Linked DNA regions of Homo sapiens: regions 1, 2, 3, 4 and 6 are each linked to region 5. The links are contacts of gene promoters, found by promoter capture Hi-C in human tissues and cell types (Jung and others, 2019). All regions are on one chromosome and are shown on one strand. Each heading gives the region's core, a stretch centred on a gene start or on the middle of the fragment in contact. The rest is flanking DNA. Distances are from core to core; before and after follow the strand shown. Region 1 overlaps AREL1 (apoptosis resistant E3 ubiquitin protein ligase 1). Region 2 holds the start of ZNF410 (zinc finger protein 410). Region 3 overlaps LTBP2 (latent transforming growth factor beta binding protein 2). Region 4 overlaps FCF1 (FCF1 rRNA-processing protein). Region 5 holds the start of ABCD4 (ATP binding cassette subfamily D member 4). Region 6 overlaps LTBP2 (latent transforming growth factor beta binding protein 2).

Region 1 (4,458 bases), core at 74-2,573, 380 kb after region 5:
AGAGAAATTTGTGACTCTTCAGATAGTAGCAATTCACTAGTTCCTGGAGGGAGTTGAAAAACAAGAGAAAATGTTAACATTCCAGGCCAGCACCTGGGCTCTGGAAAGCAAGTTACTCAGAAACCCCAATGGGTATGGAGACAGAAACATTCCCTTACATGCACTCGGAAGGCCATGCTGTGGCCCACCTCATAGGGGTCCTTCCAATCCCAGGAGACTTTGCAAGACCGGGGATCCAGGTAATTTCCCCGCACGTAGTCATAAATAGTCCGGTCCCCTCGGCGCTCGCGGTCCTCATTCTGGAGGAAGCTGACTACACGTGCGGCAAGCTCAAAGAGGAACTTAATTGTGAAGAAGAATGCAACCACAGACACTGTGATTCCACCTATGCAAAAGAGAGAACACACAAACCGCCTGCCAGTTACACATTACAGCTTTTCATTATGCAACAGGCCAGCCATTTCTCAAAAATTAAAGGAGGTCAGGATGAGACTGTAAGACTGCCAAAGAAACACTGCACTGGGCACTACCTCTGTAGATAAGAAAGGAACTTCTACACCAGGGGTCAGTAACTACAGTCCTCAGGCCAAAGCCCACCCACTGCCTATTTTGGTAAATAAAGTTCCATTGGGATACAGCCACACCCATCATTTATAAATTGTCTATGGCTACTTTTGCACTACACTGGCAGAGTTGAGTCATTGAAATGAGCCTTCGGAACCAAAAATATTTACTCTCTGGCCTTTTATAGAAAAAGTTTGCAAACTCTTGCTCTATATGAGCTGCATATAATGTCCGCCCTGCTCCCTACCTTCCTGCACTTGCTGGGCACCCCACAGAAGCAGTCAAAAGGATGTGCCTTTGGTTCCCACCATTTCCTTCTTAAAGAATGCATTATTTGGGAGCCCTCCCCTCCCTTGTGTACTTGGCAAAAGTCTTCTCCAATCCCCACCAGAGTTAGCAGTTCCCTTTTCTGGGCTCCTTCAAACTCCTACACATTCATCTGGTATAACTTTTCTCCTCCTTGACCGTTCCCCTTTATGTTATGAATGCCTACTCCTTGAAGGCAGATTTTTGTCTTATTCAACTTTAGACTCCACAGTAAACAGTGTCTGGCATTGACTATAATTGCTCAATAAACCCAAATGAATGAATTCCAATGCCAACTCTGTGAAGGTACATTCTGGCACGACTAGAAATATTTTCAGCTCCATTTTCAAAGGGAAAAGAATAGGCAGAAAGGCAAAAAGGACCCAAGCAACCTTTACAAAAATATAATAGAGAGAGCTCTTTCCATAACGTACCAATAACGTAAAACATCAGGTCCCGTCAATGCCAACAGACAGCCGAGGATCACAGCTGCAGCTGTTAAAAGAAAACTTGTTTAGTTTTTGTCTCCAACTCTGCCTCATAGCTATCTCAGAGTAAGACAAAGAAGAGTGTATGGCGTGAGCCAAACAACTCTCTCTAGTCCAGAGCCTTACTATTCCTATCCTCTTTCTAGCTTGACAGGTGCCGTATAATATATTTCAGAGAAACAAAGAGACTGCATCATTCCCCTTAAAGACTTCCAATCTACTGACCACTCTAGGAATACCACAAACAGCCACTTGCTTTATTGCTAATTTCAAAATGCAGTAACATGGCTTTCATCTTCTTAGATCCATAGTTCCCAAGACAGTTTCCCTCCCTCATGCAAAGTGGTGCTAATTAACACATGCAAAGAGGGTAATGGAGTCACTTTCCCCTTATGTTTGCCTTTTGGGAGTAATTCAGCTAAGTAGAAATAGCTATATAAAATGTAGATTTTTTTTTTTTAAAGCAAGTATCATTATCATCATGTTGGCATTATGTAATTAAAATGAACTCTGGGTCATCCCAATAATAAGCAGTGGGTCTGAAAGTGAAGTCATTTATGCTGTTACCAATCAGACAAACTAATGGGCCCTCTGGAAGATGAGCTCAGCAGAAAGACCAAGGAGAGGAACAAAAGGAGACTGTACTTCTCATCCTCAGTCATGCCTGTCAAGGTAGGAGTCTGAGGGAAGACTTTCACTGTTGTTAAACTTGTTTCCAGAATAAGACTTCAATCTTAATTACTCATTTGATCATGTGAACCAATAAAAGTACTGCCAAGGAAAAATGCAATGTATGCTAACGTTCATATCTTATCACTGAGTCTGACCTTAGCACAGGCTGTATATGCTATTTTACAATGCATGAATGCACTCTTTCTTTTCAAGTCAGCGTACACTAAGGCTGTCAATGTTATCTTGACCCAACACCTTTTATCAGCACTAGAATATTACGTAGAGACAAGACAGCTAAAAATTTCTAGGCTCAGATCTGGGAGGGACCAAAACAACTTTTTTTCAGGGTGTGTTTTTACATCTGATTGTGCTTGCTTAGTTCCTCTGATAACAATATACCCAGTGGAACCCACAGAGAGTAGGTAATTTGAGGAATGACCGTCAAAAGTTTCATACAAATCCTACTTAGAGTGATTATCTAAAGTCCTACTAGAAAAGAAATCCACACTGGGAACATTAGAATTGTCACGTGGATGAAGGTGCTCCCAAAAGGGTCTATTACAGACAATATAAAGAGCCAAAATTTGGGATCACAACTACTGAACCTCCTTCCCAAACAAGTATCTCATCTCTTGGGACCCTATGCTGAATTAGCTGGGGACCCAACAGCTATCATCTCAAAAATCTGCTACGATCTCTCAAAAAGCATCTGTCTGCATCTTACAGGATGCACTAGATGACTTGGTGGGACCAAAACTGGCAGTTTAACTGCCTTAGGTACTTCCTCAGCGGGATGCCATTCGATCTGACCCTAGATGTGAAATTTCTGGTCCTCAGGGAAGTTACAGCACTCAGCAAAGAAATGAAGTATATGTGGCTGGTGTTACAGATTTGTGGTCTTCTTAGAGGAATAAAAGCAGTGCCAAATGTATGGCTTGAGTCATGAGGGCTAGAAAAATTCCCACCTACTATCTCTGACAACTACAACAACCCTTCTGTGAGAGACAGCTGACATGCAGTAATTGAAAAGCCTGGAGAACAATCCCAGGACTGCAAACTGTGTGACCTATCTAGGCTTCAGAATCTCATTGCTGTAAAAAGAGTTGCAATTTAATAATTTCTATGGTATCATCTCCTTTAGTATGATATGACTTCAATGCAACTCCCCATGGCCATCAAAGCTCTAGCCAAACAGCATAACAAATAGCATAAGATAGAGGATAAGGGGGCAGACTCTAGAGTTAGATTACCTGGCTTCAAATCCATGCCCCATCATTCATAATGTGACCCTGGACAAGTCATTTAATCTTTGTAAAGGAGTGCCAGTTTCCTTATATGTACCTCACGGGGTGCTGTGAGGATTAAATGAGTTAACACATGTAAGCAGCCTACAGTAGTGCCTGGCACACAGTGAGTTCTCAAAGTTTTAATGATTATTACAATTATTATCAATAGTAGCGCCAGTATCACTACTCCTTTACTTCAAAGCTGATAGGAAACTCCTCTCTACTGGCCCACACTTTCTTCAAAGAGAAATGCATCTGAATTTCAAAAGGCATGGCTTCTATTACTGTCCCTGAACAGTCTGCATGGGAGTTCTTTATACTATTCTAATTTTATGCCTAAAAAATTTTACAATAAAGGGTTAAAAACTCATCCTAAAATAATTCGTCCAACAAATACTGAGTACTTACTTTTTTTTTTTTTTTTTTTTTTTTTTGACGGAGTCTCACACTGTCACCCAGGCTGGAGTGCAGTGGTGTGATCTCGGCTCACTGAAAGCTCTGCCTCCCGGGTTCGCGCCATTCTCCTGCCTCAGCCTCCCGAGTAGCTGGCATTACAGGTGCCTGCCACCATGCCCAGCTAATTTTTTGTATTTTTGGTAGAGACGAGGTTTCACTGTGTTAGCCAGGATGGTCTCGATCTCATGACCTCGTGATCCACCCGCCTCAGCCTCCCAAAGTGCTGGGATTACAGGCGTGAGCCACCACGCCCGGCCCTGAGTACTTACTCAATGTGCCAGGTACAGGGAGGACAAATTAGAACATGAGAGCCACAGTCCAGTTATCATGAAGCTGGCAGTAATGAGCTTTACCTTGTGGAGTCCTCGGCCATTTTTCCCCTGTCACTTATTTCTCAATCAAATCATCACTACTGATTTTCAAGATCAGCTAAACCTTCTCCAATGAGTCAGTTCTACATTTCTGCCCCACCTCTATTCATCATTTAAAACTCAACAGACCAATTACTACTTTTTCCCCAAACAACTGTCTTCTTGAAACCTCCTCATGACCAGAGAGTTAGTTCTATCAATTCATCATTCGCTGACATCAACTTTACAAAATGTCCCACTGCTCTACAACAGCTCTCAAACCACTCCCCACCCCCATAGTATTTACTGACCTCCCAGTTTCACCCATGGTCACAT
Region 2 (4,526 bases), core at 1,033-3,532, 420 kb before region 5:
AGATTTGTTGAACTGGAAATGTTTTACATGATTCTTAAACTGAAACTTGGTGTAAAAATAGAATTGAGATGGCCTTTTTTTCACATTGTAGACTGAAAAGAGACTTAATGGTATGATGTGTACATAGGGACTGGGGGCAGGATTGGGGGTTTCGGAGCTTGTGTAACAGTTTTTGGGATAGGAGACCAGCGGTTTTGGGTTGGGATTAGTATGGGAAGATAAATAACTTAGGTTGGTTAAGTTGACAAGATTTACTCCAGAGGATCATCTCTTTGTATTTGCCAAATAATTTACTGTATAGCCTAAAAACTCCATATATATTGAGAAAAGCATATGTTTATTTTAGGTTAGCAGGCACATACTGTCAAGTTGTAAAGATTGAGAGGGCAAACAGATGTAAACATCACTTGTAGGTGATTAAAAAGATTGACAGCCGGGCCTGATGTCTCAAGCCTGTAATCCTAGCACTTTGGGAGGCAGAGGCGGGCAGATCACTTGAGGTCAGGAGTTCAAGACCAGCCTGGCCAACACGGTGAAACCCCATCTCTCTAAAAATACAAAAATTAGCTGGGCGTGGTGGCACACGCCTGTAATCCCAGCTACTCAGGAGGCTGAGGCTGGAGAATCATTTGAACCTGGGAGGGGGAGGTTGCCGTGAGCTGAGCTTGCACCATTGCACTCCAGCCTGGGCGACAAGAGTGAAATTCCATCTCAAAAAACAAAAACAGATTGACAACAAAGACAGTTTCAGAAAATGACAGGACTGGGCAAATTAACAAATGTTTGTAAACATGAATGTTCAGGAACTACTGATGTACCTCAAAAGTTTGTTTTATTAATTGTACTCAACCCTCGCAGAACAGTAAAACTGAAGATTATTGTTTCTGAATGTTTTGGCTTATGATTGTCTACACACTGCCAATATACTTTTGTATGCAACATTTGTAATAAGTAGATTCAAACTGTGTTGGTAATCAGCCTCCCCAGTTTTCGTGAGTGGCCCTTTTTTGTTACTTTTCCTGGACCATTTCATCGCCTGAGGGGGTTTCACTTTTCTCTGTATGTTGCTAACTCCCAAATCTCCATCTGTATTTCTGACCTCTTTCTTGAGCACTGGACCTTTACCTCCAAGTAAATATCCTCAACTCTGGATTGCATCTTATACTCTGCTTTTTTCTTTTCTTTTCTTTTTTGAGATGGAGTCTTGCTCAGTCGCCCGGCGTGCAGCGGCACGATCTCGGCTCACTGCAACCTCCGCCTCCCGGGTTCAAGCGATTCTCCTGCCTCAGCCTCCCGAGTAGCTAGGATTACAGGCGCGTGCCACCACGCCCGGCTAATTTTTGTGTTTTTAGTAGAGACGGGTTTTCACGGCGTTACCCAGGATGGTCTCGATCTCCTGACCTCGTGATCCGCCCACCTTAGCCTCCCAAAGTGCTGGGATTAAAGGCGTGAGCCACGGAGTCCGGCCTACTCTGCTTTTCTAAAGTGGAATTATCTTCCTCTGAAATGTTTCTCCTTTATTTTAAATCACCATTAGTAATTTGTGTACCCAAACCTGTCATCAAGGCTTATCTTTAACCTTGAAAATGCCTTTTTAAAGAGAACTCCTTTAATTCCCACGGTTGAGTCTCTCATTCTTCCGCACGCAAATATTTTAAAATAAGTAATTTCAAGAAGTCAGTCAAACTCACAAAGCTTTAACAAGGTGGCATCCAGCTTGGAAGTCAAGTGTTCAAGCCCGCAGTCGGGACATCCAAGAGCTCTTTACATCCTAATTACAACACGGAACCCAGACTCACTGCATACCCCGTCCCGTATATAATGCAAAACTTGATTCTGCAAGTTCCTTTCTCGGGCGGTGAAACTTCGAAGGTCCTCTCCATGGAGACCTTTGATAAATGTTTAAGCAGTGATCTTTTCTTTCGCGTTTGCCTCCATTGCAACGCCTCCGCTGATGGGAAAAACTACTCCCTCCGCTACTGCGGGGTGGCAGTGACGTCAACGAATTAGCTGACCTGTTTTTTCGGGCTTCGCGGACATAGGAGTCCCGAAGGCCGAGAGTGAGTGAGTGAGTGGGAGCGGGGCGGCTGCGGCTCCTCCTGTCCGGGGCGGAGCCCTGCGTCGCGGGCCTGGGGAGGCCCCGCCAGCACCCTTGACGTCTGGGTCCCGAGCAGTGCGGCAGCCACACGACACTGAGGCGAGCGAGTGGGTGTGTGCGTGGGGGGTCAGCCAAACTTCCTGTCCCGCGCTCGAGCTGCTTCCGGCGGGAGCCGGAAGACGCTGTGTGTGGACGGAATTCGGGACCGACTGACGGCCGGCCGGCTTCCCGGAACTGGAAGGTGAGCTCCGAGGTGGGCCTGGCCACCCCTCCTCGGTTAGGTAGTACCCGAGAGGGCGGGGGCCAGTACCGGCTACTTGGGGCCTGGGGCCGAGTTCGCCCCGAGAGAGGAAACCGCCCTCCTTGGGCATCCCTCCTGGATCTGGCGGGCCCGGGAGCGGCCAGTCTGAAGCCCTGCGGCTTTGGCCCTTCCCCTCGCGGGTTTTTAGGGGCGATGTTCTTGCTCCTTTGCTTGGTTTTGGGGGTAGGGATATAGGAACAGACTGTCCTGAGAAAGCCAGAGTCAGCGAGTCCCCGGGGCGGGGGCTCTTGGACTGCACCCGCAGCCGGGGCCTGCCTACGGACCTTGGGGCCTTATTTCTGAGGCCTTTGTGGTGTGGGGTAGAGGATGCCAGGAGGCCTTGCCCTGAATGTTTCAGTCCAGAGCTACCCTCTCCTTTCATACCACTTACTTTCTGGGTTTGGAAAAGGGACAGCTGCCTACTCGGCTGGGCTGGGTCGCCCGTTTCTCCTTTGCCTGTCAGTTCGGGGGGCAGGAGTGTGTGGATTGTTTACGGCCTTCATACATTTCGTGTCGAATTTATTTTCTGAAGTTTCTCAAGATAATCCAATTTATTAAAGTTTATCCCACTTGATCATGAGGCTCAGAAATGCATTTAGGCACCATTTGGAAGTTAAATATTATTAACTTGGGACTTAAGAATTAGTACTTAGGTTGGAACGAAGGTCAACGCAGCATATTTGCAATAAATAAAAAACATTTGGAAATAAAGTCGGGCATTTTGTTAGGGAGTGAGAAATTGCACTTGGTTTTTTCTTAGTGTGGTGCAGAGTAAAAGACAACTAAAGTAGCAGTCAGAAGTTTTAAGTTCTAGTTTTTTACGTTTTGCATCTAAGTAGATGTCTAATTTTTGGCAAGTTGCTGAATCTCTAGCTCTGGGGAGTTTTTCTGTAAACGAAGGGGTTTACCTTTAGGGCTATGACAATTTTTCCGAGGCACTGAACTTTGAGTAGAAGTGACATAAGCATTTCTTTGTTTTGGAAAGATAACTTGAATGGCTGCATAAAGGATGTATTGGAAAGAGGAATTTTAAACGCGGGGTGACCAGTTAGAGGCCTGTTTTAATAGTATAGTAGAAAGTTACTGAGAGACCTAAACAGGGCATTACAGTAGGGAACAGAGAACATTCTGGGAACAGAGAATCACGGGAATTATTTAAAAATGGAGAATGAGAGAGATTTAAAGACCTAGAATTTGCAGCTGAGTGGGAGGAAGATTGGGCGATCATTGAAATAGGTAATACAAGAAGAACAGGTTTGGTAAGGAAGATAATAATCTGGATTTTGGACATTGTTAGGTTTGAGATGCTGTTGGATATACATGTGGAGATACCTAGCAAGCAGTTAGAAATGAAGGTTTGGAGTTCAGAAGAGATGACTAGAGAAAAATGTAGGTATCATTTGTAGTGTCATTCATTCATTATACAAATATTTAGTACCTACCAGTTGCTTACTGGGAAGCTTGTATGGAAGCCCTTTAAGCTCATAGTAAACACATTAGAAGTGGGAAGTGACCGTTAATGGGCACAGGGTTTCCTTGTGAGGTGATGAAATATTGTAAAATTGATCGTGGTTCTGCTTGTACAACTCTGAATGAACTAAAGATATTTTAATTGTACTCTTTAAATGAGTCAATAGTATGGTATGTGAACGATATCTTAGTGAAACTAATTTTTAAAAAAGATTTACATTGCAGTTTTGGAAATCTGTTGAGTAAGGAATTGGGAATAGGAATGTTTAATTGTGTATTTGCCGTTACACCTATAGCTAATGTACATAGTACGTTGCTCTGTTAAAGATGAGATCCCCACAGTACACTTGATAAGATACTGAGTGCTCTAGTACAAATTCTTTTGAGTTCAGTTGCATATCTTAATGCATCCTGCTATTTTTTATTTTATTCATACCGTACACATACAAATCATAAACTTGGACACAAAAATTGTATGGTAGTACTTAGTTATAATATGAATACCCAGTGCTTGAGAAAATGCTCGTGTTAATTTTTAAAGATTATTGAAGTGAAAACACTGAAATAAAAAGATGTCATAGATAACATAAAAAGGACAGTAAATAGTTGTCTGGTTCCTCAGAGATTTTACAATCCTGGAATCTCAAAGTTGGAGGA
Region 3 (4,530 bases), core at 1,874-4,373, 300 kb after region 5:
GGGACCAGGACAGAGAACACCATGAGGGTTTGAAGGAAGATGGCAGCATTTGGCACATCCAGGCAGAGTGAGCCCCGGGCATTACTGTTAGTATTGCATGTCAATTGTCGGGCACAGTGCCTGCTGGCACTCAATACCCAGGGGCAGTTCATGCTCCGCTTGGCTCCTATGGCCTCCCTCTTTGGGGTGAGGGATTTGGAAGGTCTGGGGAAAGTCCTGGGGAAGCCCAACATTAAGACGTCAGGTAGAGAGGGAGAAGCCAGTGAAGGAGACTGAGAAGAGGCAGCTGGGGATGGAGGGAGGAAACTGCCAGCCACCCATGCCATCATTTCCCCACTCAGCTCTTTGATAAACAGGTCCCAAGCATGTACAAAGGACACAGGTGTGGAGAGAGGGCCAGGCACTCCACTGGTGTCAGCAGGACACAGCACCTGGCTTCAGGAAGCTCCCAGTCAAGGACATCTCCTAATCACCTCGTTGGACAAAGAGCCTCAGGGTAACCTGCTCCCCAGGAAGATCTCCCCAGGAAGGGTACCCCCATGCAGGGGTAAGAAATGGACAGGGTCTCTTGATGAGAGTGCACCCTACATATCAGCTGGGTTCCACTGAGGTCATATAATTATTACCCTTCGCCACCTCCCACCTTCCTCTCCACCACTCCCTGCCAACTTCAGAGTCCCCACTGGCTGGTTCATCCGGAGATGAGACTTTCCTGGCTCCTGGTTCCTGGCTCCTGGTGGGTGCTAACCAGTCAGTGAAGATGAAAATCCTACCCTTGCCCTTACTCCTTTTCCTAAGGCTTGTTAAGCATTTCCCACAGCGAGGTGCTGCGCTCACTGCTTTACATGTATTACCTCACATAAACATCTCATTCTTATAACTACACTGGGTACTACTCTCATCCTCATCTGACATATGGGGAAACTGAGGCAGAACCATCAACAACTTGCCCAAGATCACCATGCTAGTAAGTGATGGAGCAAGGGTTTGAACTCAGGGAGCCTGACTCCAAAGCTGGGGCTCTTAGCCACCTTGCCACAGTCTTCCACTTTGGGATGTGGTTGTCATGAATGGGGCAAACAGGCTCCCTCAAGGAAGCCAAGGAGGAGCTCAGATCAGGAGAGACAGGGTTCTCGTAGGACTGAGATGGGGACTTGGGGAAATGCCATTCCATTGCCCACGTGATACACGCAGAGAAATGCTCAGGCCCACTCCAGCGTCACCATCCCCAGGATCCCCTGAACACCGTGGGGAGTTTCTGGAAGGGCTGATAGAACTTGGGCAACAGAAAGGGCTCTCTCAGGCACACGGCCGGGATAGGCTCTGTATTATTCAGTATACACTTATGGACCCTTTACCTTGTACCCAGCGTGCTGCCTGCTGAGGGTGGTGAGACACAGTCCCTGCCCTCAAAATCAAGGCCAAACATGTATAGAGTGCATCGCACATGCCAGGCCTTGAGCTAAACATCTGACCTAAGTGACGGTGTTTGTTCCTTACAACTCTGGGAGACAGGGCCCAATGTTGATCCCAGTTTACAGAAGAGGCAACCGAGACACAAAGACTTTAAGCAGCCTGCCCATAGCCCCTCAGCCACGTGGTGGAGCTGAGAGCTGACATTTAAACCCAGGCAGTCCAGCATGGTCTCCTGATCTAGCATTAAAATACCAGCTAAACTTAGCCTGCGCCAGGCTGTCTACACACATTTACTCATTTATCAGAAAGCACAGAGCTAAGCCCTCGCACTCTGGAACCAGGCTACCTGGATTCATGTCTGGGCTCTGATGAGTCTCAGAGGCATGACTCGGACAGACAGCCGACCTCATTTGTAAATGGGGATAAAAAATCCAATCTAGCTTATAGGGCTGTTGTGAGGATTAAAAATGAACAATATGAAGTGCTTAGAATGGTACCTGGTGCACAGTAAGAGCTATCGCGTTCATATCATTCATCCCCAAAACCAACTCTATATAGATTGTTATGCCCATTTTATGGACGAGGCCCTGTGGCTAGAAAAGGGCCAGTCACTTCCCCCAGGACACAGAGCTGGGACTCAAACACGTCTCCAGGGATCTGGTGCCAGAATCCAAAGTACATGCTCTTAATCTCGAGCCTTGCTGCTGGGGGCAGGAGTGGGAGAGTAACTTGCCTGCCCCCTCCTCGACAGCTGCAGGGATTCTCTTCTGTCCTCCCCAAAGCAGCCCCAGCCCCTGTGCGTCCAGGCTGAGATAAAATGAGAAGTCTAGGGAGTATTCAAATCCCCTTCCCCAGTTGGGGTGGGGTTGGGCGGGAGCCAGTCTGGGAAGAATGGACAGTCTTCCAAAAGCTGCAACTATAAACAGGACACTGTCACTCCACACCCTCCAGTTCTTCCCCTCTGCTGGGCAGGGCCCGGCAGGCCGCAATCAGCTGCCTCCACAAATACATAAACACATAAGTCCCGAGAGAGAGCTGGCAAAGCTACAGAAGGAAAGGCAGATACCAAGACTGGAGGAGGAGATGGCGGCCCAGCTCTAGCCCCCGCCAAGGTGGAAGGAGGGGCTGGGCTTCCAGCAATGGGCACCTGCAGAACAGGGCGGAAGGAGGGCAGGCCCGGGAGATGGACTGGTGTGTGACAGTGACCTGGGATTGATTCTGCCAGAGGCAAGAGAGGGCAACTGAGCAGGAGCCAGCACTCCCTGAGCATGGGCAGTGGGTTGGGCCCACAGATATCTGGGAGAGACTGAGTCTCCCTGTGGTTCTGGCACTAGACTTTACTCTTGGCAGTGGGGGATGTCAGCCCCCATCTCTCACTGGCCCAGGAAGGCATCCCTTCATGTGTGAAACTGCTAGGACAGAATCATGAACATTCCCCAACATTGGCAGTCTCTGCCCCAGCCAGGAGGGCAGCTGTTGGGAGGGGAGAGGGAGGTGCGGAGCCACAGGGGTGGGGGAGAGCCAGCTGACGGGGTGTGGAGCCAAGAGCCCCACCTTCTGCGGAGCTCTGGATGAAGCCATCCAGTGCCAACACCCCACCGCCCGCCTGCGTGGGTTCTCATTAGGCTTATTAGCAGCCAAATAGCAACAAGCAAACAGCACAGGGACCAGTTAATGAGCACACAGCCCTGCCACGGGCGAGCCAACTTCAAGTGGGAGGGGCTGTTGCCCACTGGCAACTCCCTTCAGGAGAGCAGCTGGCCTGTATGCCTGGGTCAGGGTGGGTGACCGGGGGCAGCAGGGTGAGACGGCCAGGGAGAGAAATACCAGGGGAGAAGGTATGGCAGCATCCTACCTCAGCATCCTGGCGCAGCACCCACTGGGGCACAAGGATGCCCCCACACACATGCACTGGTACTGTAACAGTATGCAAACTCACTCAACCTTGAGTTTCTAGGGTTGAAACTCCAGTTTGGCAGAGAATAACACTGGAACATCACTAGCAAGTTAGGAAACCGAGAACCTCCAGGGCTGGAGGGCCCAAGTGAGACCTATGCCCAGACCCCTGGGGCAGCTGGGGAAAGGCCCACCCCCTATGAAGCCACCCGCTGCAGCTTCAGCTCAAACCTCAGCAACATTCTCCATCAGCCAACGCTGCCTCCCAACCTCCCAACAAAGGCTAAGCTCTCTCAAACATACCAACCCTCTTCCTCACCTCCAAGTCCCAGTCCCTCCTGCCCAGGCCTCCTGAGTCCTGGAAGGCCCTGCTACTCAAAGTGTGGTCCCTGGGCCAGCAGCGTCAGCGTTCCTGGGAGCTGGTTAGAACATAGAATATCCGCCCCACCCCAGATCTGCTGAATCAGAATCTTCTCTTTGATGTGATTCCTAGAGGGTTGGGGGAACATTCAAGTTTGAGGAGGGCCCCCAAGGCAGATCTTCCTATGACTGACCCCCAACTCTGCTCAGTGATTTTTGACCACACCTAGAATCACCTGGGATGCTGTTAAAAAAATTACAGTGCCAGGCCCCAGCCCCAGAGCCTCTGCTTAGCATAAAGCCACCTGGCCGCCCACATCCCTGGCTTCTCTACCCAGAGGAGTTGCTCAGAGCTGATTTTGAGTCTCAGGTTCTTTTCCAATAAGGTGTGTGGCCTTGAGCAAGTCACCGCCTCTCTGAGGCTCACTTTCTTCTTTAAAATTATGAGGGGCTGGGCGTGGTGGCTCACACCTGTAAGCCCAGCACTTTGGCAGGGTGAGGTGGGAGGATCACTTGAGGCCAGGAGTTCGAGACCAGCCTAGCCAACATGATAAAACCTTGTCTCTACAAAAAATTAATTAATTAATTAAATAAAAATAAATAATGAGGGACAAGTGTTTCTCCCCACCGGTGCCCCTGACCACTGAGGGCCTGACCTCTGAGCCGCCCCCAGGCATCCACGTTCCCTGAAAAGGAAAGGGTGTTTAAGCAGATCTGCTTCGTTGTTTGTTTTTGAGTTTTTGGCTCTGGTTCTGTTATTTGGAGGTCCTAGGAGGGACCCAAAATTCTGCCTGAGCTGCATCTTCAAACAGGCAGAGGGTCAGGGCCACGAGGCCTGAGGCAGAAGCCAAGAGCTTG
Region 4 (4,549 bases), core at 1,814-4,313, 440 kb after region 5:
AGTTGGAGATGAGCCTGGACAACATGGCAAAACCCCACCTCTACTAAAAATACAAAAAAAATTAGCTGGGTATGGTGTCACGTGCCTGTAATCCCAGCCACTGGGGAGGCTGAGGCAGGAGAACCTCTTGAACCCAGGAGGTGGAGGTTGCAGTGAGCTGAGATTGCGCCACTGCATTCCAGCCTGGGTGACAGAGTGAGACTGTCTCAAAAAAAAAAAAAAATTAATGATGGTCAAAGGGTATAAAATCTCAGACAGGAAGAATATGTTTTATGCTTTTTTTGAGTTCTGTTGTACAGTGTGGTGCCTATACTTAATAATGGGGTATTATACATTTCAAAATTGATGTTCTCATCACAGAAATGTATTTGAAGTATTGCATATGTTAACTAGCTTGATTTAACTATTCCATATTGTATCCACAATTTATGATATCACTTTGTAACCCATACATTTATACAATTATAAATTGTCAATTTACAATAAAAAATTTTTGTTGCGTCTTTTTAGAAATCAGATATTCTGATGATTGCTCACATAATTTGGCGGTCATTGTTTTATACTGACTTACTCAATAAACATTTATTAAATGTATACTAGGTGCTTAATAAGAGATGGTCCTGCCCTCAAGACACTCATTATGGTGGGAAAGAAAAACATGTAAATGAATAAATGCCGTAAAATAGCAGTGCTAGGGTAAAAGTTTCAGAGGCATGTCATGGGCACATAAAGGTGGAATGATTTTTTTCTACTGGTTGGGATGGAGAGGGAGGAAAGGCCAGTGGTCATGTGGTTTGAGCTAATCTTAAAAATGAATAGGTGCCTCCCCAGTAAATTAGGAATGGAAGATGAAGCATAGGAAACAGTACACCATAGAAAATCCATTAACCTATGTATAATCCCAGCACTTTGGGAGACTGAGGTGGGCAGATCACTTGAGGTCAGGAGTTTGAAACCAGCCTGGCCAACATGGTGAAACCCCACCTCTACTAAAAATTCCAAAATTAACTGGGCGTGGTGGTGCAAGCCTGTAGTCCCAGCTACTTGGGAGGCTGAGGCAGGAGAATCGCTTGAACCCGGGAGGCAGAGGTTGCAACGAGCCGAGATCACGCCACTGCACTCCAGCCTGGGCGACAGAGTGAAACTCTGTCTCAAAAACAAACAAACAAAAAACCTATGTATTTGTGGGGATTTGGTATATTATTAAGGTGGTATTTCGTTTCTGTGGGAAAAGGAAATTTCATTAACAGGCCAAATAGTCTGGAGTCATTCTGTTAGTGTTAGAATACTAATTCCACCAGTTAATATCTGTATGAGTTGGACAAACCATATAACCATCTGTTGCCTTCCTTGTTTCCTCTTTAAAGTGTTTAATCCGCAAAACAAACCTGATAAAGTGAGATTAAATTGAATAGTACCTGGCCCAAGTAAGTGTTCTTCAGTAAATGTTAGTGATTATTACACAATGGCAAGGTGGCTATCCATTTGAAAAAAAATTAGGCCGGGCGTGGTGGCTCACACCTGTAATCCCAACACTTTGGGAGGCCAAGGTGGGCGGATCACCTGAGGTCAGGAGCCCAAGACCAGCCTGACCAACATGGAGAAACCCCATCTCTACTAAAAATACAAAAAAACAATTAGGCAGGCATGGTGGCAAATGCCTGTATTCCCAGCTACTCTGGAGGCTGAGGCAGGAGAACGCTTGAACCTGGGAGATGGAGGTTGTGATGAGCCGAGATCATGCCATTGCACTCATTCCAGCCTGGGCAACAAGAGTGAAACTCTGTCTCAAAAAAAAAAAAAAAAAAAGAGAGAGAGAAAAAAATTAGTTTCCTACTTCACATGATTCATAAAAATATTTCAAGTGGATCAAAGACCTAAATTTTTTTTTTTTTTGAGACAGTTTCTCACTCTGTCACCCAGGCTGCAGTGCGTTGGCACAATCATGACTCACTGCAGCCTTGACCTTCCCAGGCCCTGATGATCCACCCCAGCCTCTCAAGTAGCTGGGATTTTTGTATTTCTTACAGAGATGGGATTTTGCCTTATTGCCCACCTTGGCCTTCTAAAGTATTGGGATTATGGGCATGAGCCACTGCACCCACCCTAAACTTATTTCTAAGCTATGGAAGCATTAGGAAAATAAATGTAAAGAAAAACGTGTTTATCACCTTTGGATAGAATTCTTAAGCAGAATCTAAAAAGATTGAAGAGTTTGAATATATTAAAATTATAGATTTCTGTGCAAGACACTCCCCTCCCCTAAAAAACAAGTGACTGATGAGATTTTCCAATACATGTAACAAGGGTTTAGAGAAATGAGTACTGATGTCATGCTGACAGAAGTGCAAATATTTATGGCCATTTTTTACAGCTGTTGACAAGATCCACTAAAATAAAAATTGCAGATATCCTGTGAGCCCAATTCTATTTTTTTGGTAACTTTATAGTATCATACAGGTGATTCACTTTAAAATACCTCTGCATGGACAACGTGATATGTATGCGAAGAAACATTCACATGTGTACAAGGAAGCAGGTAGAAGGATGTTTACTGCACTGCTGCTTATAAAAGAGAAAAAACAAACTAAATGTCCATCAAAAGGATCTTAACTGTGGCCGGGCATGGTGACTCACACCTGTAATCCTAGCACTTTGGAAGGCTGAGGTGGGTGGATTGCCTGACCTCAGGAGTTCAAGACCACCCTGGGCAACATGGCGAAAACCTGTCTCTACTAAAATAAAAAAATTAGCTGAGTGTGGTGGTGCGCACCTGTAGTCCCAGCTACTCAGGAGGCTGAGGCACAAGAATTGCTTGAACCCAGGAGACAGAGGTTGCGGTGAGCTGAGATCACGCCACTGCACTCCAGCCTGGCGACAGAGCGCGACTCCGTCTCAAAAAAAAAAAAAAAAAAAAAGCGGTGGGGGGTCTTAACTATGGAATGTCATGAACATCTATCTACAAAAAATGAGGTAGGTTTAAAATGGGCAAAGGACTTAAACATTTCTCCAAAGAAGATATACACGTGGCCAAGAAACATGCAAAAAGATGGTCAATATCACTAATCATTAGGGAAATGCAAATTAAAACCACAATGATATACTACCTCACACCCCTTAGCCACTATTAAAAGAAAGAAGCAATAGTTATTAAAAAGTATTTGTGAGGATATGTAGAAATTGTAACCCTTAGCTGTGCACTGCACATGCCCATAGTTCCAGCTACTCTGAAGGCTGAGGTGAGAGGCCTGAGCCCAGGAATTCGAGGCTGCAGTGAGCTATGATTGCGCCATTGGACTCCAGCCTGGGCAACAGAGCAAGACACCGTCTCTAAAAGAAGCAAATCAGAACCCTTGTGCGCTGTTCCTGGAAATGTAAAATGGTATAGCCACAAAGAATATGGCAGTTCCTCAAAAAGTTAAAAATGAAATTATCACATGATTCCAGCAATTCCACTTCTTGACATGTATTCAAAAGAATCAAAGATCTTAGAGTATTTGCCCACCCATATTCATCACGGCATTATTTACAATAGCCAAGAGGTGGAAGCAACCCAAGTGTCCATCAGCAGACGAATAGATCAACAAAATGTGCTCTCTACATACAACAGAATATGAGTCACCCTTACAAAGGAAAGAAATTCTGACACATGCTGTAACATCGATGAACCTTGAAGCCATTGTGCTAAGTGAAATAAGCCAGTCACAAAAAGACAAATACTGTGTGATTCCGCTTATATGAGGTATCTAGAGTAGTCAAATTCACAGAGATGGAAAGTAGTGTAGTGGTTGCCAGTGGCTGTGGGGATTGGGGAATAGACAGTTTAATGGGTATGGAGTTTCAGTTTTGCAAGATGAAGAGTTCTGGAGATTGGTTGTACGACAGTATGAATGTACTAAAGCCACTGAACTGTATGCTTTAAAATGGTTAAGATGGCCGGGCAGGGTGGCTCATGCCTGCAATCCCAGCACTTTGGGAGGCCGGGGCAGGTGGATCACCTGAGGTCAGGAGTTCAAGACCAGCCTGGTCAACATGGCAAAACCCGGTATCTACTAAAAATACAAAAAAAATAGCTGGGTGTGGCAGCACGCACCTATAATCCCAGCTACTCAGGAGGCTGAGGCAGGAGAATCACTTGAACTTGGGAGGCGGAGGTTGCAGTGAGCCGAGACTGTGCTCCAGCCTGGGTGACAGAGAAGAACTCTGTCTCAAAATAAATAAAATAAAATAAAATGGTTAAGATGGTAAATTTTCTGTTATGTGTCTTTTACCGTAATTAATATAAATGAGATTGAGCTATATCACTTAAATGGAAATAACTATGACCTATTATTAAGAGAAACTAAATTATAGAACAGGTACAGTGTGATATTGGTTTTAAGTTTTAATATCACAAATATTTAATTGTTTATTTAGAAATATACAGTATATATATAAATGGATAGAAAAAGTTCTGAAGATAAAGCTTTCTCTTCCGTCTCTTCACTGGTACAGAATTCCTTAAATAAATTAATGTCAGGCTGGACGCAGTGGCTCATGCCTGTAATCC
Region 5 (4,195 bases), core at 984-3,483:
AATGTCTTAATGAAGATACCTTAAAAACCTATACAGGGGAAAACTGATGAATTTAACTTCATTAGAGTTAAATGTTTTTATTCAACACAGTGCCATAGATTAAGTTAGAAGACTTGGAGGTGGTATCTGCAGAGTGCAAAACCAACAAGGACTTGAAATCTTTATTTTTTTGAGACGGAGTTTTGCTCGTTGCCCAGGCTGGAATGCAACGGCGCAATCTCGGATCACTGCAACCTCCGCCTCCCTGGTTCAAGTGATTCTCCTGTGTCAGCCTCCTGACAAGCTGCAATTACAGGTGCATGCCACCACGCCCGGCTAATTTTTGTATTTTTAGTAGGAGACGGGGTTTCATCATATTGGTCAGGCTGGTCTCGAACTCCTGACCTCCGGTGATCCACCTGCCTCGGCCTCCCAAAGTGCTGGGATTACAGGCGTGAGCCACCGCGCCTGGCCTAAAATCTTTTTTTTTTTTTTTTTGAGACAAGGTCTTGCTCTGTTGCCCAGGCTGGAATGCAGTGGTGCGATCTCAGCTCAGGGCAACCTCTGCCTCCCGGGTTCAAGCGACTGTCCCACCTCAGCCTTTTTAGTGGCTGGGAGTACGGGCGTGCGTCAACACGCTCAGCTAATTTTTGTATTTTTGGTAGAGATGGGGTTTCACCATGTTGCCCAGGCTGATCTTGAACTCCTGGACTCCAGTGGTCCACCTACCTCAGCCTCCCAAAGTGATAGGATGACAGGTGTGAGCCACCGGGCATGGCCAGGATCTAAATCTAGAGCCTACAAGAATTCCTGCAAGCCAGGAACATAGGAAATCCACAGAGAAGTGGGAAGGGATATAAACAGGCAATTCAAAAAAGGGAAAACCCACGTTTAATAAACACATGAAAATGTAGGCCGGGAGCAGTGGCTCACGTCTGTAATTCCTTTATGCACTGCCCGTCGGGAAGTGTAATCCCTGCACTTCGGGAGGCCGAGGCGGGTGGATCACCTGAGGTCAGGAGTTCAAGACCAGACTGGCCAACCCCCCCATCTTTGCTAAAAATACAAAAAATTAGCTGGGTGTGGTGGCGCGCGTCTGTAATCCCAGCTACTCAGGAGGCTGAGGCAGAAGAATCGCTTGAACCCGAGGCGGAGGTTGCAGTGAGCCGAGATCATGCCACTGCATTCCTGCCCGAGCAACAAGAGCAAAACTCCGTCTCAAAAGAAAGAAAGAAAGAAAGAAAGAAAATGTACACGATGGGATACCACCTTACACCCCCCAGACTGATAAACATTACAAAACCAGCCGCCACTGAACGATGGAGGGATACCGGGAAACAGGAAGCTTTATGCACTGCCCGTCGGGAAGTATAAACTAGTGTGACCATTCCAAAGAACAATCCAGCAAAATTAGATATGACCAGGACCCAACTCTGGGGTGGATACCCAGAGAAATGCAACAATATGCACAAGGAGACAACTGCCAGAATATTCGTTACAGTGTGGCTTGTGGGGGTGTTAATACTAGAAAAAAATCTATCCACCACTAGGGGAATAAGTCTATGCACACAGCACCCCTCATGCAAGCACTCAGAAGTGAAAACAAGATGACTAGCATGGATGGACTCAAAAACACAATGTTGAGGAAAAAGGTTTAAAGAAAAATCACAGCATATTATATTGAAGAATTCGAAACCGCTATATAGATTTCAAAGTAACACTTGCACAAATTTACCCAAGGTGGACCGTAAAGCCACTTATATAACACACCAGAGTGGCTGTCTGAAAAGGGGAGTGAAAGGGGTCTGGGAATAGGAACGAAGAGAGGAAGTGATAAAATAAACAAGGAGCCTTGCATTGGCCCACAGGGTGTCAAGAACTGAGAAGGATCAACTCAATTTTGTGCACCTGAGGTTCTTCTTTTCAAAAAAAGAATGCCAGTTGCGAGGGTGAGGGTCCCACACCGCAGGAGATGGCACAAGTCCGGCCAAGAACGGAGGGGGCCGCGGCCGGTGCGGAGCGGCCTAGAGCGGCGGGAGGGCGGACGCCCCTTCGAGAGCTCCTCTTTCTCTCAGAAGTCACGGGGGCGAGACGGGGGCGCCAGGGCGGCGGACGAGGCACGGAGGGCAGGAAAGCCCATTCCCTACAGCCCGGAACTCCTGCTCCCAAACCTCCTCCCCGACCGCCCTGCTTACCTGGCGCCAGCTCCGGGCGCGGGCCCCGCGACCGCCATGACCTGAGACCCGAGGGACTCTGGAGCCCAGCTGCCCCTAGTTCAGTACTGGGTAGAGTCCGAGGAGGGGCGGGGCCCCGGCTACCACAGAGACGGCGTTTGATAGAGAGGAAGGTGCGGGAGACGCGGACTCTCCCGGAAGCGACCGACGTCTCTAAAAGTACCAGAGAGTGGACTCGGCTGACCCGGCGGCTACAGCGCCCCCATATTTTCTGGGAGACTTCCCTTTTGACAATAGGTATCCGAGAGTGTAACTACTTTATGGCAAGTATTTTAGATTCTGTGTATAATAGATGTTTTACATATTCTCCCAGAGAAGCCAGCATGATCTTTAAAAAAGTATAAATTAGGCTTCCAGCCGGGCCCGGTGGGTTACTCCTGTAATCCCAGCACTTTGGAAGGCCAAGGCGGGAGGATCGCTTGAGCCCAGGAATTCAAGACCAGCCTGGGCAACATGGCAAGACCCCGCCTTTACAAAAGACAAAAGCATTAGCCGGGGATGGTGGCGAGCGCCTGTGGTCCGAGCTACTCTGGAGGCTGAGGCAGGAGAATCACTTGGGCCCGGAAGGTCAAGGCTGCAGTGAGCCGTGACTGTGCCACTGCACTCCAGCCTGGGCGACAAAGAGAGACCCTGTCTCAAAAACAAATAAATAGATGATAATGATCGATAGATAAGATAGATAGTTGAATGAATGAAATGCTTATCAGTTGACTGATTAGTACCCAAAGGGAGGTGGGAAATGGCTCAAAAAAAACCCAAACAGCATGATCCCACAGGTCCCTAAATTTGAATCTGGATGTGTCTTCTCACTTTCCTCCAATCCTTATTAAGTTTCAACTGCAAGCCAAACACTCTACAACATGCATGTATCACTTGTCTTTATGAAAGTTGCAGTCTAGCTGGGTAGGTCAATCAGTTGACAATTACAGATTTTTTTTTTTTTTTTTTTTTTTTTGATACGGAGTGTTGCTTTTGTTGCCCCGGCTAGAGTGCAATGGCGCGATATCGGCTCACGGCAACCTCAGCCTCCCGGATTGAAGCCATCCTCCTGCCTCAGCCTCCCGAGTAGCTAGGATTACAGGCATGTGCCACCACGCCCAGCTAATTTAGTATTTTTAGTAGAGACAGGGTTTCTCCATATTGGTCAGGCTGGTCTTGAACTCCTAACCTCAGGTGATCTGCCCGCCTTGGCTTTCCAAAGTGTTGGGATTACAAGAGTGAGCCACCGCTCCTGGCCTTTTTTTGTTTTTGTTTTTGTTTTAGACGGAGTTTCGCTCTTGTGGCTCAGGCTGGAGTGCAATGGTGCTATCTTGGCTCACTGCAACCTGTGCCTCCCGGGTTCAAGCGATTCTCCTGCCTCAGCCTCCCGAGTAGCTGGGATTACAGGCATGCACCACTATACCCGGCTAATTTTGTATTTTTAGTAGAGACGTGGTTTCTCCATGTTGGTCAGGCTGGTCTCGAACTCCCGACCTCAGGTGATCCACCCACCTTGGCCTCTCAAAATGCTGGGATTACAGGTGTGAATCACCGTGCCCGGCCTACAGCTGTCTTTATGAAGTGCTATGACAAACATACCATACAGCAGGGGTTCTCAACTTTGGCGCCATTAAGTTTTGGGGCCTGATCATTCTTTGCTGTGTAGGCTTTCCTATGCAATGTAGGATGTTTAGCTGTATCCCAGGCCTCTACGCACTAGATGCCGGTGGCATTCCTTCTGACCTAGGCATCCCAAAATGTCTCTAAACATTGCCAAATGTCCCTTAGGGGAGAAAGGACCAAAATTCCAGCTTTACCCCACCCCCTAGCATTGAGAACCACTGCCCCAGAACCAAAGAGAAAGGCATTTAACTCAGCATGGGGAAAAGTGGAATCTAGAAAGACTTTGAAGAGGAAATAACTTTATTCAAGTATGTCTTTCTTATTTTGAAAACCAAAAAAATAGGATGCAATTTTTGAAAAATTAATAAGGCAACCAAAGT
Region 6 (4,176 bases), core at 691-3,190, 270 kb after region 5:
CTGGCTTATTGAACAGCAAACACAGGCCTGACTCCAGATGTGTTTACCCCACTCGTGGGCCTGCCCCGACAAGCACACTGTAGACTAAGGCAGCTAGGGACCTGGGTCAAAGATACACTTTCAGGAACTGGCCAAAGTCCCAGCCTGCCCTTTCCGCTCTCACAGGGGCTGGAAATTTACCCCGGGGCCATAAACAAAAGGAGATTTCTATGGGAACTAGGGCCCCAACCTGGAAAGCTTCCATTCAGCAATCTAGCAGCCCAAATCTGTCAACCTATGATGTGCCAGGCCTCTGCTAAGGCATTTTATTTTTTTATTTACTTGATTAGTACAGCAACCCTATGATACAGGAACTAGTGTCCCCATTTTACAGAAGAGAAAACTGAAGCACAGGGAGCCTGCTAACTTGCCCGGGGTCATCCCCAGCAGGGAAGTGCTGGGCCAGGGTCTTCAGGCTGAGCTCTGTCTGCCTCTGGGGGATGAGATTCCCTTCCCCACCCTGCTGCTCACCCTTGGCTGTGACCAGAAACCTCCCAGGTCTGGAAACACCTTCAAGTGCTCTGGGCAAATTCTCAAAGTTTCTGATGACCGCTGCTGCATTTCTGAAAGGCTCAGATAACCCCCGAGGCAGGGGACAAGTAAGAGTGGGTACGGTGAGACTTTGAACAAATGTACAGAACCATGAACCAAATAAACCACTTTTCTTTATATTAAAAAAAAAAAAAAGAGTGGGCACGGTGGCTCATGCCTGTAATCCCAGCCCTTTGGAAGGCTGAGGTGGGCGGATCACTTGAGGTCAGGAGTTCGATACCAGCCTGGCCAACATAGTGAAACCCCGTCTCTACTAAAAATACAAAAATTAGCTGAGCATGGTGGTGGGCACCTGTAATTCCCCAGTTACTTAGGAGGCTGAGGCAGGAGAATTGCTTGAACCTGGGAGACAGAGGTTGCAGTGAGCCGAGGTCATGCCACTGCACTCCAGCCTGGATAACAGAGCGAGACTCCATCCTCCTCCCCACCAAAAAAGACTGGGTGTCATTTATAGAGGACCAAAAATGTGCCAGATGCACTTACGTGGATTAGTCAATCCTTCTGACAATTCCATAAGGTAGCAATGATCATCCCCAGCCTACAGATGAGAACACTGAAGCTCACAAGGTTAAATCACTCACTGTAGGCTGCATAGCTAAGTGGTGGAGCTGAGATTCAAACTCAGGTTTATTTAAGACATAAATTATTTCACAATTCTGCCCTCACACGCTACTGCATTTTGTGGAGCCTCTGACCTTGTCCCAAGAACATCAAAAAAGAAAGAAATGTGGAATTAATTTTTCTCCCCTGGAAGGGCGTGGCCTGGCTGGGGTCTTGAGAGGATACCGCCAGACCCCTGCAGATGCAGACTCCCTCAAGTGGCCTCTGCTGCGGGCACTCGCGGGTGGACATGTTACATCGTGGGCAGGGCTGAGGCTCCAGGAGGAAAATGCAGCGTAGGCGACATCTGGAAGCAGAAATGTGGTAGCTCCAGAAGTTTTCATCTGTAATCTTTGTTTTGCAAGGAACAGGGATTTTTTTTCTTTTCAAAAAGTACTCCACTTCCTTTTAGACCTTTCACAAATATTTTTGTAGGAGAAATAAGGAGAAAAAAAAAAACCCACAGAATGCTTGTCGCAGCTACTCACTTCCACCATGAATCACAGACACAAAACCACAGCTATGTGGCTAGCAAAGCAACTATGTGTTTTCACATTTCATTATTGGGAATCATTTAGCAATCTTCCCGGTGTCATCTGCAGACAGATAGACACAGACAGACGAATACACCCCTCTGGGTCCCAAGCAGCCTCATACAACACAGTCATCAGATGACTTTGCAGTTAATCCATTTTCCCCTTCTAATCCTTTTCTGGGAAATTATCCTGCCAGGTTTAAATCTTCCCCTTTAGCCCTTCTGCAGAGGTGGGGTGTGTGTGTGTGTGTGTGTGTCTGTGTGTGTGTGTGTGAGAGAGAGAGAGAGAGAGTGTGTGTGTGTGCATGCGCCATGACAGGGGGAGGAGGAGGAGTGCCGAGACACTGATTCAGTTAATTTCACAAGTGGAAACAAGTGTATGTTTCAGAATGCCTCCCTTTTTTTTTTTTTTAAACTGTGATCATACTTTGCTAAAGTTATTTTCACCTGGGAAGCTCACAGTGCCTTTTCTGACCGTGGCAAATTAATTAACTGATGGCAGATTTAAAGATGGAGTAACTGGAAAAACTACCGGACCCATAAATCAGAAACCTCCTTTATGTCCTGGACAAGAGGTGAAACCTGATACATATTTGAAAAACTTGAGCTCAAAAGGAGAATTCACGGAGCCTGAAAAAATCTCCATTATGACTTTTGAGACATGTTCTCTCCACAGCTTCCACCCACGCCCCGCCACACACACACGCATACACACACATACCCCCGCAGAGGGAGACCCTCACTGAGTGAGCAGCCAGTTCTGTAAAAAGCAGCCGGATGGGGCGAACCTTCCCTGGGCCATCTGAAAAAGAGCTTTGCCAGTCTTTCCTCTCTTTTCTTGCTTCATTGCTCCCAGCCTCTTCCTTTCAAACAAAAATCCTACAGGATTTAAGTTGGCTAGATGCTATGAACATAGCTACAAGCTTGAAATGTTTATTGTCACTAGTTATTTTAAGTCCGGTGCTGGAAACTGTATACATTAACATTTTAATGAGGCCGAATGCTGCTCCAGGCTCTCACCGACTTCTGTAGTTTTCTGAAAAGACGCTGGATACCTTGCCTAACCCAGTACTCTGCAGTTTCCAAGCCAAGCTGGATGTTTCCGCACTTGCCTACGCTCACATGCCCTGGAGGCTGGTTCGCACAATGACTATAATCACAAGTTCTGAAGTCGAGGAGAGCTAGGCTGGAATCGCCCTTACCCTCAGTGTCCTCATTGCAAAGTGGGAGTCATGGGAATACCCTCCTCACAGGGTCATGGCAAGGACTGGCAAATGTGCTGAAGATCTTCCACTTGCCCCTGGATCCCTCTCCATCCCACTCTGAGTCCTGGGAGATTCCTTTGCCCTCTGCCTTCTGGTCCAGTTCCATCAGTGGGGAACTGTGGCAGGAGGTCAGAGGGCAGGAGAAGGGTGAGTGGAGGTGCAGATCCTCCCAGCTCCCTCGCAACAGGTACTGCAGGTGAGCAGTGGCTGCATTCCTCCACCAGAGGCCGCAGCCCTGTCCATGGCCCTCTCCTATAGCCTGAGCTACCCTGGGTTCTTATGACTGCTGGTCCCTTGCCCCTTTAGACCTGGAGGGTAAGAGCTTGCCTACGTAACTACCCTGGGATACTCCACCATTATTCATTGTTTTCTCTTGACTCTGCCAGTGCTTTTGTAAATAAATACATCGAGTGTGCCATCCCTTTCCTGCTGGAACTCTAACTGACCCAGACAAGAAAAAGTATTTGCTATCGAGTACTGAGCACTTACCTATGTGAGCCGGCACTTTATCCACATTCCTTTGTGTTATTCTGACCACAGCTCTGCGCAGCCAGTATTGGTATCATCAGTCTTTCACATTGAGACTCGGGGAGGTGAAAGAACACACTTGATAGCACGACTGGGGAGTAACCGAGTCAAGTGGAACCGGGATCTGTCTGACTCGTGGCCCATGCTCTTAGCCACTGTGCCGAGCTGTCCCCAGTATTAAATTAGGTGGTGCCTGTAAACTGTCAGCTTATTCAATAAGGCTCCATCAATGGTGGGTTAGAACAACAACCACACATACAATCGAAAACACCCACAGTCCTAAATGTTACTTTAGCATAACCCTAACCCAACCCTGACCACAATCCTAAGATTAAAACCTCACCCTAATGCTGCACTGCTAAAGTTATTCCTCTAATCTTACCCTAACCACTACCGTACTGTTAAATAGAATGTCACCCTAACCACAACCTTAGTGCTAGTCAATCTTAACCCAAACTTCCGCCATGGTAACCATAATTCTAAGCACACCACTAAGGCCATGATGAGCTCTGGGGAACCTCTGCACCCCTGTGCTCCTGGGTGCTGGTCCCTGTGCTATGCCATTTATACTCCACTATTTGGACACGACACAATTGACCAAAAGACATTTGTACAACATCCATGTCCTGCATGTCACTGAGCTGGTGACTCTAAAGT

Evidence for each region. The method cuts DNA at HindIII sites, captures the fragments that hold promoters and counts their contacts. A contact is called where the count stands out against the background at its distance.
Region 1: a fragment that was not itself captured here is called in contact with the fragment with the promoter of ABCD4 in region 5 in 1 of the 25 tissues and cell types used here (bladder).
Region 2: the fragment with the promoter of ZNF410 here is called in contact with the fragment with the promoter of ABCD4 in region 5 in 1 of the 25 tissues and cell types used here (pancreas).
Region 3: a contact is called between a fragment that was not itself captured here and the fragment with the promoter of ABCD4 in region 5, in 1 of the 25 tissues and cell types used here (hippocampus).
Region 4: a contact is called between a fragment that was not itself captured here and the fragment with the promoter of ABCD4 in region 5, in 2 of the 25 tissues and cell types used here (hippocampus and liver).
Region 6: a contact is called between a fragment that was not itself captured here and the fragment with the promoter of ABCD4 in region 5, in 2 of the 25 tissues and cell types used here (lymphoblastoid cells and spleen).

The regions. Positions count from the first base shown.
Region 1 is chr14:74,684,296-74,688,753 of GRCh38, forward strand. AREL1 (apoptosis resistant E3 ubiquitin protein ligase 1) reads right to left here. Exons shown (of 20, transcript NM_001039479.2): 3 at 1,305-1,365; 4 at 159-385. The coding sequence starts at 1,320. Among named protein-coding and RNA genes, the nearest start is that of AREL1, 27 kb to the right of the region's middle. The HindIII fragment of the contact is 5,032 bases long and covers 1-3,839 here.
Region 2 is chr14:73,884,577-73,889,102 of GRCh38, forward strand. ZNF410 (zinc finger protein 410) reads left to right here and starts at 2,283. Exons shown (of 12, transcript NM_021188.3): 1 at 2,283-2,339. It overlaps PTGR2 (prostaglandin reductase 2), which reads left to right. Exons shown (of 10, transcript NM_001146154.2): 10 at 1-1,150. RefSeq lists enhancers at 532-641, 2,273-2,342 and a silencer at 1,943-2,222. The HindIII fragment of the contact is 8,605 bases long and covers 1-4,526 here.
Region 3 is chr14:74,597,143-74,601,672 of GRCh38, forward strand. All of the region lies in intron 2 of LTBP2 (latent transforming growth factor beta binding protein 2), which reads right to left. Among named protein-coding and RNA genes, the nearest start is that of LTBP2, 13 kb to the right of the region's middle. The HindIII fragment of the contact is 8,248 bases long and covers 1-4,530 here.
Region 4 is chr14:74,736,202-74,740,750 of GRCh38, forward strand. It overlaps FCF1 (FCF1 rRNA-processing protein), which reads left to right. Exons shown (of 8, transcript NM_015962.5): 8 at 1-2,419. Among named protein-coding and RNA genes, the nearest start is that of YLPM1, 25 kb to the right of the region's middle. The HindIII fragment of the contact is 3,351 bases long and covers 1,389-4,549 here.
Region 5 is chr14:74,300,701-74,304,895 of GRCh38, forward strand. ABCD4 (ATP binding cassette subfamily D member 4) reads right to left here and starts at 2,234. Exons shown (of 19, transcript NM_005050.4): 1 at 2,175-2,234. The coding sequence starts at 2,212. It also overlaps a transcript of VRTN not described here. RefSeq lists a silencer at 1,983-2,062 and an enhancer at 2,323-2,682. The HindIII fragment of the contact is 36,493 bases long and covers 1-4,195 here.
Region 6 is chr14:74,570,324-74,574,499 of GRCh38, forward strand. All of the region lies in intron 3 of LTBP2 (latent transforming growth factor beta binding protein 2), which reads right to left. Among named protein-coding and RNA genes, the nearest start is that of LTBP2, 40 kb to the right of the region's middle. The HindIII fragment of the contact is 5,179 bases long and covers 1-4,176 here.